Linked DNA regions of Homo sapiens: region 1 is linked to region 2. Evidence: promoter capture Hi-C in 16 types of primary human blood cells and fetal thymus (Javierre and others, 2016). All regions are on one chromosome and are shown on one strand. The core of a region is centred on a gene start or on the middle of the fragment in contact, and the rest is flanking DNA. Distances in the headings are between cores, read along the strand shown. Region 1 holds the start of OTUD6B (OTU deubiquitinase 6B). Region 2 holds the start of RBIS (ribosomal biogenesis factor).

Region 1 (2,967 bases), core at 339-2,838, 5.8 Mb before region 2:
GAGCTCAGAAAGATTAAGTAACCTTGCTCAGGTTACAATCCCATTCAGTCGCAATTCTGGGATCAGATGCCTGGTCTTCCAACTTTGATTTGGTGAAGCTTCATCTTTTGGGCAAGTAAATAGGTAAAGAAGTATAGCACTTTCTTTGCCGATCTCCCTTATAGAAACACACTGCCCTGTAAACTTGGTCACAAAAACATTAATGAGAAGTGATGCATGAGCATAACTAAGTGATTTCATTTCCCTACCAATTTTATGATTTTAGATAATAAACAGTTTAACAGGGCCGGGCACGGTGGCTCACGCCTGTAATCCCAGCACTTTGGGAGGCCGAGGCGGGTGGATCACAAGGTCAGGAGATCGACACCGTCTTGGCTAACATGGTGAAACCCTGTCTCTACTAAAAATACAAAAAATTAGCCGGGCGTAGTGGCGGGCGCCCGTAGTACCAGCTACTCGGGAGGCTGAGGCAGGAGAATGGCCTGAACCCGGGAGGCGGAGCTTGCAGTGAGCCAAGATTGAGCGTGTTTTGCAAAGCGAGACACCGTCTCAAAAAAAAAAAAAAAAGCAGTTTAACATTTAACAGAAGTGGACAGCTGTTTTCAAATGGTGTAGGCAACGACAAACATTTATTTCACATACCTTATTCTCCTTAGTAGTCAGCTTCAATTGCTCCAGTTCCTCTCTATGTTTCTGTTCCATTTCTTTTTCCAACTTGGCCACATCTTCGGTGAGTTGCTTCCTCCTCTTCTTGTCATTCTTGGGAACAGCATTCTTCATGCCCTGAATTTTGGCTGAAAAGCCATTAAAATCATTAAGTCAGACACGCAGGAGTAAAAGGAGATGAGAAACAGGAACCAATAAGGGGATGGTAACGGGCGAAGGGTACAGAAAAAGTAATTATGGAAGAAAGAGTCATCACGTAACAGGCAGCTACAGAGAGAGAAGATCCCAGATAAAGCTGAGACCAAAAAAAAAAAAAACTTCATTAACAAAATCTTGAATATGTTTCGGTTGTTTGGCGAGATAAGAGAAGGAAAAAAACCTGACTGTAGCCAGTTTTAAATCTTTCCGGTATCCTTTCTGAACCTCCTAAACTGAGGCGGGTCCATTCAAAATACACCCATTAGGGACAAGTATCGGTAACTGGGGCAGGTATAGAAAAGGGAGGCATCGTGGGTTTGGGAGCGGACCAAGACGGCGGCTTCTAGGTATTTTCAGACACCTGCACCCCGGCGGCGGCGCGGGGTAGGGGGCACGCCGCAGGCCTCAGAAGGGGAAGCCTCTGAAGGTTGGGGAATTAAAGGGCCGCCGGGGTAGGTGAAGAGAGAAGAGGCCACTTGCTACTAGGGGAAGTCTAGGGTGATCCAGATAAGTCACGCCTTGAGATTCCCCAGAATCGACCCGCCACGCGCCCTTCCCCCAGTCGCGGCGGCTTCCAGATTCCCACTTCCTTCCGCCTCACCTTGCAACTCCTTCTTCTCTTTGCGATGCCTTCTCAGCAGCTGCTCTTCCTCATCAAGCTCTTCGGTCAATACCGCCTCCATGACGACCAGGTACCCCAGCACACGCGCTAGAAGAAACCTGCACCGGCTAGTAGGCACCTTCCACCCCTCAACCCTCACCCGGGGCTCCATTGGCTACGGCTGGGACCCAGCCCCGCCTTCAAGGCGGCACCGGATCTAAGCAAAGCCACTGCAAAGACGAGAAACTTAAATGGGGTGCTGCGCGTGCGCGCTACCGTGACCCTGCCGTGATGGGCGGGGCGGCAGGGGAGGAACCAGACTGCGAGCGGAGAAGCGGAGTTTGCAGCCTCGGAATTGGCTAGAGCGCCAGAGCCGAGTCAGCCATAAAGCTACGCGCTAGGCTCTTGGCCCTGACGTGAGGCGCGCAGAGATGGCGTAACGGGAATAGTTTTCAACGTCTATTTCATTCCCTGCTTCAGAGGACCTCTTTAATCTTTGATTTTGGTCCCTGTTTCTAAGAAAAGCAACTGAAAAGGTAAGAAAGAAAAATAACGCATTTTAATAAAGCCGTCGATAATTATCAATGGGAATCTTTGGGCTGTTTGGGGCTGTGTGGAATTAAATTATGTTTATTGTCTCCAAGGTCGTAATACCGCCCCTGAGAAAAAAGGAGCAGCGCTAAATAATCGAGAAAATGCCTCCTCTTGAAACGGATATAGAGATGGAAACAAGATATAAGAAGGATTGAGAATCATATAATACAGGAGCTTAAACACCTATGCGCGATGATAAAGAGGGTACTATTAGAGCGCTTGGAAAATACCAGGAAGTTGAGAGAGTTAACAGAAGGGCGCACGCTGGATTGGCCACAAAATCGAATTACTGAAGTAAGTGCAAAACGACAAATTGTCACAGAATACAGAGAAAAGGGGAAAAGAAATTAAGAGGAGAAAAAGAGAGATCTAGAGGGCCGGTCCAGGAGATACAATCTATGCATAATAGGAATACCTGAAACTGAGGACAGAGCAAGTGGAGCTGAAACAATAAAGGATCTACTTGAAAAAATTTTCCAGAATTGAAGAACGAACTAGATCTACAAATGGAAAAGGCTCATAGGATACCTTTAAAGTTTAATGAAAAGAAAGCAGCATCTAGACATATCCGGGTGACGTTTTTGAATTTCAAAGACGAAACATTTTACAAGCATCCAGTCAGAGAAAGCAGGTTACTTACAAAGGGGCAAAAGTCAGGCTGACCTCAGATTTTTCTCCTGCAATTCTAAATGCCAGAAGACAGTGGAACAATATCTAGAGTGTTAAGGGAAAATAATTTTGAGCCAAGAATTATATACTCTGCCAAGTTATCATTTCTTTACAAAGGAAACTGGAAGACATTCTTAGATATACAGGGGTTAGGAAAGTATATCAACCAAGAACTTTCCCTGAAAATTTTGCTGAAGGATTTACTGCAGCTAACAGAGAACCTGAATTAAAATAAGAAT
Region 2 (2,721 bases), core at 173-2,672:
GCTACAAAATGGCATATAAATGTCAGTTTTACTGACAGAGCAGGAGCACCGTCATCTCGGACAAACACCGCCATTTTTAAGTTCCAGCTCCCTTTCTAGCCTCATGAATTTCAAGGAAATCACTTCTCTTCTAATTACAAGCAGATAGAAAGAGCAGTCAGTAAAACACAGATAAGACAGCTCAGGCAGAGTGAAGTAGGGGGAAAATCTCTTGGCTAACTACCAAACCTCACCCTCATACAATGAGCCCCAGTGAAACAGTGGGCCTTAATAAGCACATTCCTTTCCCTTCAGGTGTACTAAGATAGGGAAGCTAAAAGCAGACTTTTAGCTGCGGGTATGCCTGCAGCTGCAGAAAGATGTATGGGAACAGACACACAACTCTCCCTCCCAGATAAGCACAGCAAAGAGACACAGAAGCAGTCCAAGCCTCTGTTAAACTCTCCCACCCTGAATCCTTAAAAACTCTTAGTCTGTAAGAGAGTGTGGCTCTGACCTAACTTGGCCAGCTGCCAGTCTCAGGTTTATTTAAAATAAACCTGTCCCTGTTGACTATAAAGCCACCCTTCGTGCTTCTCTCCTCTATTTAATTCTTACATCTACGTTTGTTTGAAATCCAGCTTTTCCTATGACCTCAACAAAATAAATAGAGGCACATGTGAAAACTTACCTTTAATAGGGTTATTCTCTTGGAAGAATTGAGTCAATTTTCTTAAAGCAGAAAAACCTAGACGACGTTATGGGTTGAATGTTTTAAGTTCCTTGGTACCTGTTTTATTTGTATATTTTATACTGTGCCTGGTTTCTTGTGCCTTTGCAGTGCTGTCAAAAATTCTCTTTTTGAAACAAGGAAGCTGCAGTGAGAAAAACATTTCTAACTCGCAGTGCATTACAAATCTTCCTTTCGGAGATTATAGCTCTAGATCTTTTCCAACCTCAAGGCTCCCTCTACCGCCAGCCGAGCCCTGGAAACCACCCAGAGGTGCACAGCGCCTCCTCCTGGGAGAGTGGCAGAGTCAGCCGGGAGTCCGCGGCGGAGCGCTGACCTCCGGTGCGGCGGTCTTCACTGTGCAGTCTCAGAAGCACCTCGGGAAGTTTCTGCACAAGTACCCACGCCAGCAAGGGGAGACTTGGCTGGCTCCATAACGCCCCAAACTCGCTTGAGCTGAGGATAAGTCTGCAACACCGCGGAAGACAAGGGATGCTAATGAGACTGGACTTCCGAACCTCGCTCTATGGGTGGGGCTTCGCTTTTTCACTGCACCTTGCTCCTTAGACTTGGCTCTATGGGCGGGACTACGCCAGGTGGGTGGGAACTCACTCTATGGGCGGGACTTCCGCCTATGGACGGGGCTCCGTTCGGTGGGCGGAGCTACGGCTCGTGAGCGGAATCCTGACTGGTTCATCCTCCCCGGAACTTCCTAGACGCCGTACGTGCCAGATGGTGTTACCTGGAGCTTAAAAAGCTGCACGCAAGTGTTAAACTTCTGGTGAGAGTTTAATAAATTAAGTTTTCTGGAGGGCTGGCGTGAAGTTTGCAGGGGTCGGGGTTGGATTGGGCCGGTCTCGTACCGCTGTGGCCTGTAGGCTCGGTTCCGTCGCGCTCTGCCTCAGGCAGCCCTACTGGGTAGCAGGCCCGAAACCCCGGTGCTTGTTGGGCTTTCATCTCCTGACGGGGTCCCAGTTTTGGGCTGTGTCTTTCATGATCAGTTTCTACGTGGTTTTCAGAGAATTTCCCTCCACTCGCACACCCCCACTAGTGTATTACTTTCTCCACGAACCTTGCTCAGGTCTACAGCTCTAGTAAACCTCTCCACTTGTAGACTGTCTGTTCATGGTCCATGTGTATATTATAGGTAGTGTCATGTACAATATACCTATCATGTCTGTGTATGTTCCGTATATATACTGTCATTATTTATGTTCCATATATATTTTTTGTGTATAAAATATAGGTTCTCTACCACACGTGGCATATAGCAATTGATTTATACTAGATGAATGATTGGATTTTGGTTACTATTGTAATTATTTTATTTTAATTTTTATTTATTTATTTTTGAGACTGAGTCTCAGTCTGTCGCCCAGGCTGGTGTGCAGTGGCGTGATCTCGGCTCACTGCAACCTCCGCCTCCTCGTGTCTCAGCCTCCCGAGTAGCTGGGATTAGAGGCGCGCGTCACCACGCCCGGCTAATTTTAATTTTTTTTAGTGGAAACGGGGTTTCATCATGTTGGCCAGGGTGGTCTCGAACTCCTGGCCTCAAGTGATCCGTCCGCCTCGGCCTCCCAAAGTGCTGGGATTACAGGCATGAGCCACCGCGCCCGGCTTGGAATGATTTTAGAGTACTTCATTTGAGGGGTTTTATTATGTGTATTTTATTTTTTGCATCTTCTGTAATAACCATGTATTTTCTACTGCATTCTTTTTTAAGTAGGAGGAATACTGTTGGCGTTCAAAAGCATTGCTGTTTCAGTTAAGTAGTTCCTTAATTACTTACAATGTAGTAAGGCTACATTGAAGGAAGATATAAATTTCAGTCAAGACTACGACTGAGCAAAGGTAAAAAAGGAAGAATGTTCAAGGTGTCTGTGCAAGAGAACAGTTAGACCAGGCTGGCTAGAGCAGTGTTTATAGGGACGTAACAGGAGATATGTGTGGCAGATTTAGGGTAGATTCAGAGTGCCAGTAATATGCCAAGCCAAGGCACGTTGCCCCTTATA

What was found. Contacts are between HindIII fragments. The CHiCAGO score rates a contact against its expected background, and 5 or more counts as called.
Region 1: a contact is called between the fragment with the promoter of OTUD6B here and the fragment with the promoter of RBIS in region 2, in 1 of 17 cell types (naive CD8 T cells). The highest score is 7.4, in naive CD8 T cells.

Annotation. Positions count from the first base shown.
Region 1 is chr8:91,068,965-91,071,931 of GRCh38, reverse strand. OTUD6B (OTU deubiquitinase 6B) reads right to left here and starts at 1,588. Exons shown (of 7, transcript NM_016023.5): 1 at 1,466-1,588; 2 at 643-794. The coding sequence starts at 1,547. OTUD6B-AS1 (OTUD6B antisense RNA 1) reads left to right here and starts at 1,743. Exons shown (of 3, transcript NR_110438.1): 1 at 1,743-2,001; 2 at 2,110-2,353. RefSeq lists an enhancer at 1,361-1,540. The HindIII fragment of the contact is 11,349 bases long and covers 101-2,967 here.
Region 2 is chr8:85,219,075-85,221,795 of GRCh38, reverse strand. It overlaps RBIS (ribosomal biogenesis factor), which reads left to right and starts at 1,422. Exons shown (of 4, transcript NM_001099673.3): 1 at 1,422-1,490. It overlaps LOC124901969 (a long non-coding RNA gene), which reads right to left and starts at 1,249. Exons shown (of 4, transcript XR_007060985.1): 1 at 671-1,249. RefSeq lists enhancers at 1-402, 886-1,125, 1,436-1,565, 1,175-1,946. The HindIII fragment of the contact is 10,198 bases long and covers 1-2,721 here.